Regions from separate parts of the Homo sapiens genome. Here regions 1 and 3 are each linked to region 2. The links are contacts of gene promoters, found by promoter capture Hi-C in blood cells and fetal thymus (Javierre and others, 2016). All regions are on one chromosome and are shown on one strand. Each heading gives the region's core, a stretch centred on a gene start or on the middle of the fragment in contact. The rest is flanking DNA. Distances are from core to core; before and after follow the strand shown. Region 1 holds the start of PRG3 (proteoglycan 3, pro eosinophil major basic protein 2). Region 2 holds the start of OR5B21 (olfactory receptor family 5 subfamily B member 21). Region 3 overlaps SLC43A3 (solute carrier family 43 member 3).

Region 1 (4,390 bases), core at 721-3,220, 1.1 Mb before region 2:
AGGCAGAACCAGAATTTAACACAGGCGTTTCTAACACCAAAGCCTTTTGTTTAAATCGGTGGTTCTCCCCAGACCAACAATATCATCATCACCTGGGGATTTGTTGTAAATGCAAATTCTCAGGCTTCACCTCAGCCCTCCTAAATCAGAAGTCGTGCAGGTGAGGCCCAGAAAGCTGTGTTTTAACAACAACTCCAGGTGATTCTGATGCATGCGAGGCTTTGAGAACCACTAGCCTAAATGAATAGGGAACAGAAGACTGAATGTACTCTCTTTTCCCCCAGGTCCTCCGCAGTAGCCTCCCTACTACTTACCTGAGCTTCTGCAAAAGTTTTAGGAGTCCGCACCAATAGGTAGCGGCAGATCTTGCACCTTGGACTTCCCTGCACTTCAACAATGTCTTCTTCCCTGGGGCACTGGAAGTCCTTGTCTAAGGCAGCTGGGTCCGACTCCATGGCTTCCTCATCCTCAAAGTTGTCTTGACAGGCAGAAGCCTTGACCTCCTCTCCCTCTGCCTGAATCACCTCCTCCGTCAGAGCCAAGTCTCTCTCCTGCTCCTTTGAACTATCCAGATCCTGGCCTAGGTCTGCCTGTGTCTCTAGGCTCTCCAGATGGGGGGCATCATTCTCTGGGAAGAAGAGGTAACCTGCCATCAGGTCAAGAGCTTCCTAGTTCCAGCACCGTGGACAGCTCCAGCAACGTCGCTCGAGCTTTCCTAGGAATTCCACCTGAAGACAAGACTGGAGGATTTCCTTGGTGTTAGGTAAGGAGAGATCTCTCGGGTCACACCCACAAATGGACAAGAACCTGACTTCTGGCCGACACCACGAGTGTGTGTTTTGAAGGTGGGAGAAAGCACGTGTGAGAAGCCTGGGGCAGTCACCAGCCCTTCATCTTAACAGGTGGGTGGTTTTTCCTTCTGAAAGTTCAGGTTACAGTTTGCCGGGTGCGGTGGCTCACGCCTGTAATCCCAGCACTTTGGGAGGCCGGGGCGGGCGAATCACAAGGTTAGGAGTTTGAGACCAGCCTGGCAAATATGGTGAAACCCCATCTCTACTAAAAATACAAAGATTAGCCAGGCGTGGTGGCATGTGCCTGTAGTCCCAGCTACTCAGGAGGCTGAGGCAGAAGAATTGCTTGAACCCGGGAGGCGGAGTTTGTGGTGAGCCGAGATCGCGCCACTGCACTCCAGCCTGGGCAACAGAGCGAGACTCCGTCTCAAAACAAAACAAAAAACAAACAAAAAAAAAAACAAAAACAACAACAACAAAAAAAAATCAAACAAAAAAGAGAAAGTTCCAGGTTACAGTTCTGAGTCCAAGTGATATCTTACCGGAGATGAGCTGTATCAGCTAAAGAGGGAAGGCTGTGGTCCTGGCCTCATGAGTGCAAATAAAAGCGGGGGGAGGGGAGTGTAGGAAAAAGGAAAAAAGGGAAAGACGCATGAGGAGGGAAGGGAGAGACTTACCCAGATGAAGAGCAGAAACTGTTCCCAGCAGGAGAAAGGGCAGGAGCAAGAGGCATTGCATATCTACTGTCTTTTAGCGAGGACACTACTCCACCGTCCTTCTTGGGGCTGTCTTTGTGTGTCTAGTATAGCCCCTGGCACATAGTATAGAGGGAATATTTGTTTAATTGTTTGATTAAAGAGCAAACAAGATTGCTTTCTCCTCTTGCCATGAACAGACCCTGAGCTGGAGAGTCTAGAAAAGGAATGGTGGGAGGGATAACTCAGGTACCAAATTTCATTTGTCTTCCAGTCTCCGTTGCTGCTCTCCAGTATCACCCTTAGCCCAGACTCCTGCCCCTGCGGGGACAGGTCTGCTTAGCTATGATGTTCCTAAGGACAGGCCTCCTACGTGTTTGCCCTATGAGGTGCTGCTTCTTCCCAGGGCCTACACTGGTCCTGCCTGGGCAGCCAGAAAAGAACTCACCTTCCAAGAGTCTGAGACCTCCACTCTCAGTGCCTCTGGCTTCAGGGGCCAGAAGCAGCCTTTATACTGGGTTTTTGGGGAAGTGGGAAGAGGCCAGAATGATTGCTCCAGGACAGAGTGGGGGACAAAGGAGCTGATAATGAAGTTTGCTCAGTCTTCTCAACCCTGTGCCCTGCTCTCTGCTGGGACTGCAGGGACCTGCCTCCTGGGGCCTACTGCCTTGTTTGGGTACCCCACACCCTGGTTTGCTTCAGAAGGCCCTAGATGTTATGTCCATTGTCCAGGCATAATTATTATTTATGCCCCCTAAAATGCCCCAGTCTGAACAACACGCCTTAACTCCAGGAGTAGCCTCCTGCTGGTGGAATCCCAGAGAGTGAAGTGGAGATCCCAGGGAGCTGGTGGGAGACAATGGGGGGAAGAAACAAGAGGGGAAAGGGAGGTTCAGTGCTCCCAAGCTCTCACCCATCCTAGGGGCATAGTGTGCAACACACCCCTCACCCTCATCTCCGCATCATCTCCACCAGGTACCACCCCTACTTCACAGAGGCAAAATGTGAGATTCAGAGAAAGAGAGAAGGCAACTTGCCAAGGTTCCATGGGAAGTGGAAGAACTGGAATTTCTAAGTCTTTTTGACTCCAAAACCTTCTCTCTTTCTTTCCTCTCTCTCTTTTTTCTCTCCCTTCCTCTTTCTCATCTTTTTTTTTTTTCTTTTTGAGACGGAGTCTTGCTCTGTCGCCCAGGCTGGAGTGCAATGGCAAGATTTTGGCTCACTGCAAGCTCCACCTCCCGGGTTCAAGCGCTTCTCCTGCCTCAGCCTCCCAAGTAGCTGGCTAATTTTTTGTATTTTTAGTAGAGATGGGGTTTCACTATGCTGGCCAGGCTGGTCTTGAACTCCTGACCTCGTGATCCACCCACTTCGGCCTCCCAAAATGCTGGGATTACAGGCATGAGCCACTGTGCCTGTCCTCATCTTTTTTTTTTTTAAGAGACAAAATCTTGCTCTGTCACCCAGGCTGGAGTGCAGTGCTGCGATGATAGTTCACTGTAACCCTGAATTCCTGGGCTCAAGTAATCCTCCTGCCACAGCCTCCTGAGTCACAGGGATTACAGGCACAAGCTTTCTCATCTTTAATGTGTGAAAAATCTACATCCTTTCTTCTGTGCTGTGGATCTAGATCAAGGTTCCTCAACTTTGTGCTATTAATATGTGAGGTCAAATAACTCTTTATTGTGGAGGGGCTGTCCTGGGCGTTGTAGAAAGTTTAATGGTCCCTCTGGTCTCTACTCACCAGATGTCAGTAGCCCCTCTCCCCACCCCCGCAGATGATCAAAAATGTCTCCACATGTTTCCAAATGTCCTCTGGGGAGAAAAATGGCCCCAGTTGAGGATCTCTGATCTAGGATATGCCACCTTGCCCAACCTCAAGGCATAGCTTCAGGGCTGGCAAACAGGCAGCATGAAAAGCTCCATACAGAGTCTCTCCAGCACTCTGTAGATCATCCTCTCCAACCAACACTCCCCTCCTCACCTCCCATCTCCCACCAGTCTTCTGTCACCCCAGGGTCTGGACTAGAATCAGGCAGGGGAGGCTCTCAACTCAGACACACTAAGAAATTAAGGGGACACTAAGAAATTTACTATTCAAGATAAATAACATTTTAATGCAACATTTCTTAAAAATTGAAATTAATGCAAAACAAAACATCAAAATTTTAACTGACCAAGCTCTAGACAAAATTTGCTGCACTTTAAAGAGAGGCCAGCATGTCTCAAGCCTTGAATTTGCCAGATGTCTCTGCCAAGAGCTAGTGGACTTGTCAGGGTGAACTCAGAGGCATCCTTGTGGGATGCTTCTCAGAACTATGCCTGGCACATGAGTGGAGGGTGACCCTTGTCAATTAAAATGTGCAGATTGGTAGGACCGGGCACGGTGGCTCATGCCTGTAATTCCAGCACTTTGGGAGGCATGTGCGGGTGGATCACCTGAGGTCAGGTATTTGAGACCAGCCTGCCCAACACAGTGAAACCCTGTCTCTACTAAAAATACAAAAATTAGCCGGGCGTGGTGGTGGGCACCTGTAATCCCAGCTACTCAGGAGACTGAGGTGGAAGAATAACTTGAACCCGGGAGGCAGATGCTGCTGTGAGCAGAGATCACGCCACGGCACTCCAGCCTGGGCGACGGAGCGAGACTCTGTCTCAAAAAAAAAAAAAAAAAAAAGTACAGATTTATTCCCCATATTCCACCCCAGCCCTCCATGGCTCAGGGAGCAGGGACAGGCAGCCCAGAGGGTGAGAAGACCTAAATTCCTTCCTCTTCTCTGCTCTTCCAAAAGACCCACAAATGGAGAAGTAACTGAGAGGCCATTTCTGAGTCTGATTGCAGAGTAACGGCCTTGATCACTATCTCCGTAGCCCAACGGACCAAACCCTCCACTTATCTACTTGACT
Region 2 (4,724 bases), core at 353-2,852:
TCTATTAAAGCATTCCCATATTTCTGTATATAACAAGGTGTAATGTTTCCCCAATGATTTAGCAAAAGGGAATGGAAATTACAAAGGCACATGACTAGTGAGTAGGATAGGAATGTGGGTAGAGAAGGGAGAGTAAGGGGTTGGAAAGATTTAATCGTCAGCTACCTGACTCGATCTAGTGCCTTGTCCTTTAAATTACAACTTTCTCTCAAATATCATTTAAAATATTGAAACATCCTTTGTCTACCTCAGAAAGTCCAACTTTCAAACTCGCAGAACAAAAGAATAAAAAAGATACTGTGTGTTCAGTTGATAAAAATGAAGGTGAAATCTTTACACCAAGTTTAATAGTGAATGAAAAATTCTTACAATTAAAAACAGGATGAGGAAAATTTGGTACATTCATTTGTATGCTTCAATCTTCTGCTTTAAACCACGTCAAGAAACTAAAGCAAGAAAAGCTTAACTGTCCCATGTTGTTGTTCACTAAATATAAGATTATCTTTCTAAGTAAGACTTTCAACGTGCTGCTTTTTACATCTTCTAATAGCAGAAGTAACCGCTGTTCTTGGGGAAGAAAGAACTGAAACCAGTCAAACGTTAAAAGTCATGATGGCATTTAGGTGTGAGAGAAAGTTTATCCCTTAATTGCTTGCCTACTTCCCATTCACATTTAATATTGGGGGTAAAGTTTGTTGAGTATTTTCCAGAGAGCACTTTTCACTTCTTTGTTCCTAAGGCTGTATATCAAGGGATTCAGCATGGGAATCACCACTGTGTAAAACACAGAGGCTATTTTGTCTGTGTCCACGGACTGGCTGGAGTTGGGCTGTAAGTACATGAAGATGATTGTGCCATAGAAGATGGACAAAGCAGTGAGATGGGAAGCACAGGTGGAGAAGACTTTCTTCTGCCCTTCAGCAGAATGCATCCTCTGAATGGTGATGCATATGAAGAAGTAAGAAATAAGGATGACCAGGAGGGTGAAAAAGACGTTGAAGCCTGCCACAAAGACCACCAACTTGCTGATGCGTGTGTCAGAGCATGAGAGAGCCAGGAGTGGGGGAATGTCACAGAAGAAATGATTAATCTCATTAGAACCACAGAAGGAGAGTCTGAAGGTGCCTGCTGCATGGATAGAGGCATTGAGGAAGCCAGAGACATAGGAACCAGTAGCAAGGAGGGCACACACACCTGCTGTCATGGTGGTGGTGTAATGAAGAGGCCTACATACCGCTGCATGGCGATCATAGGCCATGGAGGCCAGGAGGTAGCACTCAACAGTGGCAAACCCCACAAAGAAGAAGAACTGAGCTGCACATCCATCGTAGGAGATGGCCTTGTCCCCTGACCGCAATGCAGCCACCGTTTTGGGGGCTACAGCTGATGAGTAACCCAAGTCTACAAGGGAGAGGTTACTGAGGAAAAAGTACATTGGAGTGTGGAGATGGGAGTCTGAGTGGATGATCACCATCATTCCCCCATTCCCAAGCAGGGTGATGAGGTAGATGAATAAAAATGCCAGGAGGAGGGGTATCTGAAGATTGGGGTCATCTGTTAATCCCAAGAGGATAAACTCTGTCACTTCTGTGCTATTCTCCATTGTGGCCAGCTTGAATTAGCCTGGTGATTAAAGAAGAGGCGTCAACAAAATTCCAATGAAAGTATGAGAAGGGAGGATGGAATGATAAAAAAGGAGAAAACTAATGTATAGAGAGAATGTACTGTGTGTAACACTCATCCTAGAACCCTCTGTTATATTATAGCTTTTAATTCATATGAGATAGGTGCTATTATGCCCATCTTACAGATAAGGAAGTTAAGGCTCAGGGAGCTGAATATTGAGCAAGATAGCCTATCTAGGGGTCAGAATCAAAGTTCACCCCTTTATATTTCTGAATCTAAAGTTCATACATTCATCTTGAATTCTTTAACACATTTACATCATATAAATACAAATTATGATGTGGATATAAGATTGTATGTATTTAATTATTAAAAATAAAAACATCCATCACTTATTGTCTTCCACATTCTACTTCCAATAATATAGCCTCACTAAAGATTTTCTAAATTTATTTTTCCTTAAAACAACACAAGTTTATTCTCTCAAAATTCTGGAGGCCAGAAGCCTCAAATCAGTTTCACTGGGCCAAAATCAAGGTGTTGGCAGGACAAGGTGGTGCCCTCAAGGTCTGTTTGATACTAAATCCAAAGATCTTAACCACAACTTTTGAAGCCTTTATAAATTAATCCCTCAACAGTAGTTCAACTGAAAGGGAGTATGGTATATGTAAATATGAGTATGTATTTATATATATTTAATATAAAACTATAAATTTGATATATACAAATGGCTTTGTGTATCTGTGTATATGCATATGTCTTTTTTCACCCCTTATCAGAAGTCTTTGCTGTAGACCCTAATTCCAGTTAAGTCCTCCTTTCTCTCCCTCCTCAAAGCACTTGAGTCTTGGCTGATTATTGCACAATTAGCTGGGCAACCACTCACTCTTCACCTAGCTCTAAGCCCCTTGGGACAGTAACTATCTTCATCCCCTCTGGTCCACTCTCCTTACCATGGCCCCTCACACATGTATGTAAATATTTGGTGAATCAAACAGAACATCAATAGGAAAGTATGGAAATATTTTTCATGCTCTTTAATCCCACAACAAACATCCTATCATCCTCTTGTCTACCAGGTTTGTGCTTTGGGCCAAAATATTAGCTTAGACTTGTCATATGAAAAATATTCAGGAGTAACAGTGAGTTTGCAGATGGTCAGGCCTGGAGACAGGTTTCTGTCCTCATTTTAGAGCATTCTTTCTCTCCTATTTTTGTTCCTCAACCTGAGGTGTTCACAGGCTTTCCCCACTCCTAGTAGCAGAGTGAGTGGGAGCAGACTCAGAAGAAGTGAGGGAGAAAATGTGAGAAGAGAGGAGGAAAAAGGAGAAAACAGGAATTAAAGGAGAAAAATGCTTCAGCTCTGCTGGACTTTAGCTTACCTTGAAGAGTAACAGCAGCAATTTGATTGGTGACACAAAAAGAAGGGGATAGTGTAGCTTGTCCTTTTTGGATGACCATCACACACACACGATGTGGCTAGTTTCATAAGAACTGGCTCAGTCAGCTTGGTACATTACTATCCAGTAATGTACTAATTGACTTTCTGACCAGCATCACTTTCTATTATATTTATCCAGCCTTTTTTAACTTGTTTTTCTTTTGACTTTTGACATGTGTGTATACTCTCAAATTTAGCAAACACAATATCCTGTAATCTATGACAGGCAGTGTTCTGATCTTACATATTTGGAAACAGAAGGATGTGGTGCCCCTCAAGGTCACATAACTGCTTAACTGTAAAATCTGTACAATTCCAGAGCCTGGTTTTTCAGCCTCAGCACTACTGACATTATGAGCTGGACAGTTCTTTGGTGCAGGGTGTGGTGGGGGAGAGGGAGTGCTGTCCTGTGCATTGTAAGATATTCAGCAGTTTCCCTGGCCTCTCTCTAATCACTAGATTCCAGTAACACCACCACCTCCCATTTGTAACAGTCAAAAATGTCTCCAGACGTGGCCAAATGTCCCCTGAAGGGTAACATTCCCCTGATTGAGAACCACTGTTCTAGAGCTTTTAAAAAACAGTGGTTCTAAAGTTTATAAAACTCTTTTTGCATTCACTTCTTAATTTAATTATTGCATGACTAGATAGAGAGAGAGAGAGATAGCAGATATAGACATGAAGAAACCGAGGCTCAGTGAGGTGAAGTGACTGGTTTAAAGTCTAGAACTCTGGCCAAATATTGCTGCTTATTGGTAGAGGGATCCCAGGAAGGGATAACTGCTTGCTAAGTACGTGGTCCTTTGACCAAAGAGATACCAGTCCTCCCATATTGTAAACCAACCTTTTCCTAGACACAAGGTAGGATGAAAACCTGGAAAAATTCCAAGAATAAAATGCAGCTGACTTAGGGTGGATTCTGAATTATTTTCCAAAATACCTTCTGAAATGCTTATTAGATCAATCTCCTTGGTTAATATTGACCACAGGAGTCTATTCACTTAAGCTGTACGTTCAGTTTTTAAAAGCCATTACACCCACCCCCCCGCCCCCGCCATATTGAACTGTCCCTGACTGCCATGTTCCTCTACCGGCAATTAATATTCAAGGTACTTTCTGTGTTCCGTTAATGGGCAACCCTTCCGTTTATGCATTGCAGTCTCTGTTAATAAATGTGTTGAGATCCAGAGCAGCAAGGAGAAATCTGGAGTCAGTGCAGAGAGAAAAGGCCTCATTTACCCAGCACCAAGCCTGGGAGGCTGCAAGGCCTGAATCCAAATCCTGCTGCTGCTGCTGTATCTCCTCCCACTCAAGTCCTGTAAAACCCAGGCTTTTCTGCATGGACCTAAAATAAATATCGGAAGGAGTCTTGAAAGAGAAAAAATATTTTTAAAATATCTACGGTTGAATACTGAAATATCTAAGGTTAAAATATTAAGTCAAAACCTGAAAAAGCATTAAAATTTAAGGAATTATTATTGTTATAAAGAGAGAAGGAGAAGTCTAAGCCATTAAGATAGTTTGGAAATAAAAAGTTCCATCAAAATTGCTTCTAAAGGGGTTTGAAGCATCACCCCCAATCATCACACCCCCATTTGGGGAGTTCTAAAGAAGATTCTCAATGGAATAAATTCCATAAGGGAAGAGACAAGGCCTA
Region 3 (4,335 bases), core at 1,279-3,778, 1.1 Mb before region 2:
TGTGCGCTTCTTTGTGCCCCCCATGGCCCCCTGTGGGTTTGCTTCACGGATTATAACTGCCTGACTACCTGCCTTTCTCCACCCTCTAGACTGAGAACACCTTGAGAAAAAGAACACATCTATCTTGTCTGTCATTGAATCCCTGGTGTCTGGCACCATGGCTGACACATAACTATCACTCAGTGACTAGTGTTTTAATGAATGAATGAGTGCAACTAGACAGGGTTAAGAACAAAAGAGAAGACCAGGCATGGTGCTTCACGCCTGTTATCCCAGCATTTTGGGAGGCTGAGGCGGGCAGATCACCCGAGGTCAGGAGTTCAAGACCAGCCTGACATGGTGAAACCCCGTCTCTACTAAAAAGACAAAAATTAGTGGGGGATGGTGGCACACGCCTGTAATCCCAGCTACTTGGGAGGCTGAGGCAGGAGAATCTCTTGAACCCAGGAGGTGCAGGCTGCAATGATCTGAGATCACACCACTGCACTCCAGCCTGGGCAACAGAGTAAGACTCTATCACAAAAAAAAAAAAAAAAAAAAAAAAAAGAGCGAGAGAAGATGTCATGGGGTAAATGAAGACCTCCCTTCCTGGTTCCCTGACCAGCCCCTGCCCTCCCCCGCATCTCACCTGTCTTTCTTGCTTCCTTCTGGTACTTCTGTTTAAGCCGGTCCATGAGCAGGCCATTCCAGGGGGCACACAGCACTCCGAACTGAGTGAAGGCAAAGGCATTTGTGTAGGTGCTGACTGCAGAAGGAAGAGAGAGGTTGGTTGATGAGAAGTTTCCAAAACTCCCTTCCAGGCAGGGACTCTCCCACCTTACCCTTGTCTGCATGTCCCTCCTCCCCACACCATCAGACCCTCCTCTGGTGTGTACAGCCCTGCTGGGAGGCTCTGTGTTCCCAGCTGGGACATGCAGATGGGCTACCTCCCAGCCCTACCACATACCTCGTGCCATGTCCCCACCGGCCATGTTGGTCAGCAAGGAGTTGAGAGTGCCAATGAAGAGGTAGTGCCACAACTGTATCACAGACAGCCACACCAGGTGCCAGGCAAAGCGCCGAGAGAAAGCGTAGCTCCAGAAGGAGCGGAGTTCCTGCTTCTGCCCTGCCCCTGGGGTCTCTAATGGGGAGAGGAGGATCTGGGCGTGAATTACGAGGAAAGTGGACAGGTAGGATGGGGAGTGTGGAGGCTTCAATGGAACATTTCAGATCCGGGCCCACCTTCTACCCTTGGCTCCCAGAACTCACCCGGCGTGCTCTGCACCTGCCTCGGACTCACACATCCCCACCTCCCTGCTTTGTCATGCTGGCCCTACCACCTTGGATGACCCTCTGTGTTCTTCTCTATTGAAATCCGATCTGTCTCTCACAGCCTGGTCAATGACACTTCTTGCAGTAATACCTTCCTGATCTTTCTCAGCGAGAAAGGTGAAAGGAACGACAAGGAGAGGAGAAAGTCAGAAGGGAGAGGAGAATGAGTGTGGATACTCTGTTCTAACCTGCTCCTCAGCACCTCCCTTTCTTTTGATACCAGTATCCTGAGTTTCTTTGGGAAATCTTCCTCTACCCTAATCTTCATGGTCCAGATGGGACCATGAATTCAGTGTTCTGTTCCTCTCTCAAGGTTAACCAATGAGATGGTTCCTCCTAACAAGGCAGACCGGCCATGAGTTTAGATTAGGATGGACTTAATCTAAAATAGGTCCTACACCCTGGCAAGTTCAATGTCCTCCCTTGATTTTGGAAGCTTCCCAGAACCCTATTCTTCTTTCTTTAAAATAAATAAATAAATACATGTTTTGGATCCAATTGTCAGATGGTAAAAATAAAAACAAAAAAATCAATTTTATTCTGTATATTTAAGATATACAATATGAGGTCATAGGATACATATAGCTACTAAGATGGTTACTACAGTTAAGCAAATTAACATATCCATCATCTCACATTTCTACCTGTTTTGTGACAAGAGCAGTTAAAATCTACTTGTTTAGGAAAGTCCCAAACACAATGCAGTTTGATGACCTACAGTCTTCGTGCTGTGCATTAGATCTCTAGGCCTGTTCATCCTGCTCATCTGCTCCTTTTTGTCCTTCGACCTGCATCTCCCATCTCCTCTCCCACCCCGTTCTTATTTCTACTGTAGCTAGCTGCGGTTTGTGATGTGTGTAACCAAAGACGCAGAACAGAGAGGAAGGAAAGGAAGCAGTGATAGAGTTGGGACAATAAGAGAGGGCGGACCCAGGAGACCTGGAGAAATGGGGGCACTGTACCAGACTTAGTGCAATGGCATCACAGAAGAGGGCAGAACCGAGGAGTGGGGGGAAGGGAAGGCAACCCATGGCAGGCGGGCTTCAAGGGGTGGGGAAGTGATAGGATGCGAAATAGAGAAAAGAGGGACAGAAAAGAGACGAAAGCCCTGGACCCTCCATTAAGTGAGAGGGTTGGGAAGATGCCTAAGGCCCTTTTTCTGTCCTGCCTTTCCTGATTCTGGGTCCCTGGGGGAGCTCTGGAGGTGAGGGGCCAGGAAAGGCACAAGGAGAGGCTTGGGTCTGGAGGAGAGATGGGTTAGCCAGCAGGGCTCACCTTCCTTCGCTGAAAGGAACTCCTTTGACTGTAGCTCCCTGTTTTCATGCTCAGCTGTTTCCTTCTCTTCCTTTGTGGTGCCATTCCCAGGGCACAGGCTATGGAAACAAAAGCCCCACCAGCAAGGCCAAGGACTGTGAGCCGAACCTGAGACTCAGACTGGAGGGAATAGCATGGTGAATCCCACATTCCACCGCACTTTGGAATCACCTTTTAGCCACTCTGATGCCCAGGTTGCAGACCAGACCAGTTAAATCAGAATGTCTGGAGGTGAGAGCCAGGCTTCCTTTTCTAAGATCTCTATGTGAATCTAGTGATTCTAATAAGCAGCAAAGTTTAGGAAGCATGAAAAGAGTAGGGCAGGCCCAGGTTCAAATCCCAGCTCTGCCTCTTCCTAGCAACAGAAAGATGGCTCAGACTTAACCCTTCTGAGCCTCATTTTTTGCATTTAGAAAATGGAGATAAGGATATCTCAGAGGATTATTGTGAGGATGAAATCAGAGAGCACATGGGGTCTGACAATTAGTAAGTGAGCAGCAAAGGAATGCCCTTCCTCTACTCCTTGTGGCAAATGACTGCAAAAATGATCACATTTCTTCACCTCCTCTGTATTTCCCCCAATTTGAATGAGACTGCAGCTCTATTTCCCCATGCCCTGAATCTGGGCCAGCCTTGTGAACTGCTTCAGCCAAAAGAATGCAGCAGAAGTGGCTGTGCCAATTCCAAGCTTAAATCTCAAGAACGCTTGTGCATTTCTGCACTCTTTCAGAACCCTGAAATCACGGTGTGAATGAGCCCACGCTGGCTTGCTGGAGGATGACAGCCACGTGACCCAGGCATCCCTGTCACTCCAAACCTATGTGAGTGAGGCCATCCTAGCATAGCCAGCCCCCATGTAATCCTCCAAATGATCAGATGTATGAATGAGCCCTGTCAAAATCATCTACATCTGGCCCTGATCAGCGGAACTAGCCAGCTACCCACAGACTTGTGAAAAATAATAAATGCTTAACATTTTAGGCTGCTGAGTTTTGAGATAGTTTGTTATGCAGCAATAGCTAACAGATGCACTGCTCCAGTCCTCCTCCTCTCCTGTGATAGGTTTGCTTTACCCTGTCCATCCCACCCTAGGGCCAATGAGGGGCTCTGGCCCACAATCACCAGATAGTCCTTACCCATAGCTGTAGTTGGGGGGCAGTGGGTATGGGATGTGCCCCCGGGGCATCAGGAGGAAAGTGCGTGCTACATGCCAGGTACTGCAGACAGAGATGAAGATGAAGGAGGCCCTGAGGCTGATGCCTTTTTCATAAAGAAGCTGCAGAAGGAGAAGGAAAAAGTCAGTGTCACACCCACGTTCATAGCAGCACTATTCACAATAGCCAAAGGATGGAAGCAAACTAAGGGTCCATCAGCAGATGAACAGCTAAACATAATGTGATCTATACACACAATGGAATATTATTCAGCCTTAAAAAAGGAAAGAGGCAACCATGCTGGCTCACACCTACAATCCCAGCACTTTGGGACGCACGAGGATCACCTGAGCCCAGTTCAAGACCAGCCTTGACAACATAGTGAGACCCTCACCCCTTCTCTAGAAAATTTTTATTTAATTAGCTGGGTGTGGTGGCATACACCTGTAGTGCCAGCTACTCAGGAGGCTGAGTGGGAGGATTTCTTGAGCCCAGAAGTTTGAGGCTGCAGTGAGTCATGACTGGGCCACTGCACCCCAGCCTGGACAATGAAACA

What was found. Contacts are between HindIII fragments. The CHiCAGO score rates a contact against its expected background, and 5 or more counts as called.
Region 1: a contact is called between the fragment with the promoter of PRG3 here and the fragment with the promoter of OR5B21 in region 2, in 12 of 17 cell types (non-activated CD4 T cells, total CD4 T cells, total B cells and 9 more). The highest score is 12.5, in non-activated CD4 T cells.
Region 3: a contact is called between a fragment that was not itself captured here and the fragment with the promoter of OR5B21 in region 2, in 1 of 17 cell types (total CD8 T cells). The highest score is 5.2, in total CD8 T cells.

Annotation. Positions count from the first base shown.
Region 1 is chr11:57,379,180-57,383,569 of GRCh38, forward strand. PRG3 (proteoglycan 3, pro eosinophil major basic protein 2) reads right to left here and starts at 1,971. Exons shown (of 6, transcript NM_006093.4): 1 at 1,935-1,971; 2 at 1,469-1,602; 3 at 315-628. The coding sequence starts at 1,529. RefSeq lists an enhancer at 160-1,359. The HindIII fragment of the contact is 3,099 bases long and covers 1-3,053 here.
Region 2 is chr11:58,506,503-58,511,226 of GRCh38, forward strand. OR5B21 (olfactory receptor family 5 subfamily B member 21) reads right to left here and starts at 1,603. Exons shown (of 1, transcript NM_001005218.3): 1 at 305-1,603. The coding sequence starts at 1,603. The coding sequence ends at 674. All of the region lies in intron 2 of LOC105369313 (a long non-coding RNA gene), which reads right to left. The HindIII fragment of the contact is 6,996 bases long and covers 460-4,724 here.
Region 3 is chr11:57,413,987-57,418,321 of GRCh38, forward strand. SLC43A3 (solute carrier family 43 member 3) reads right to left here. Exons shown (of 14, transcript NM_199329.3): 8 at 3,762-3,901; 9 at 2,587-2,684; 10 at 947-1,120; 11 at 629-745. Among named protein-coding and RNA genes, the nearest start is that of SLC43A3, 11 kb to the right of the region's middle. RefSeq lists an enhancer at 591-1,091. The HindIII fragment of the contact is 1,566 bases long and covers 1,746-3,311 here.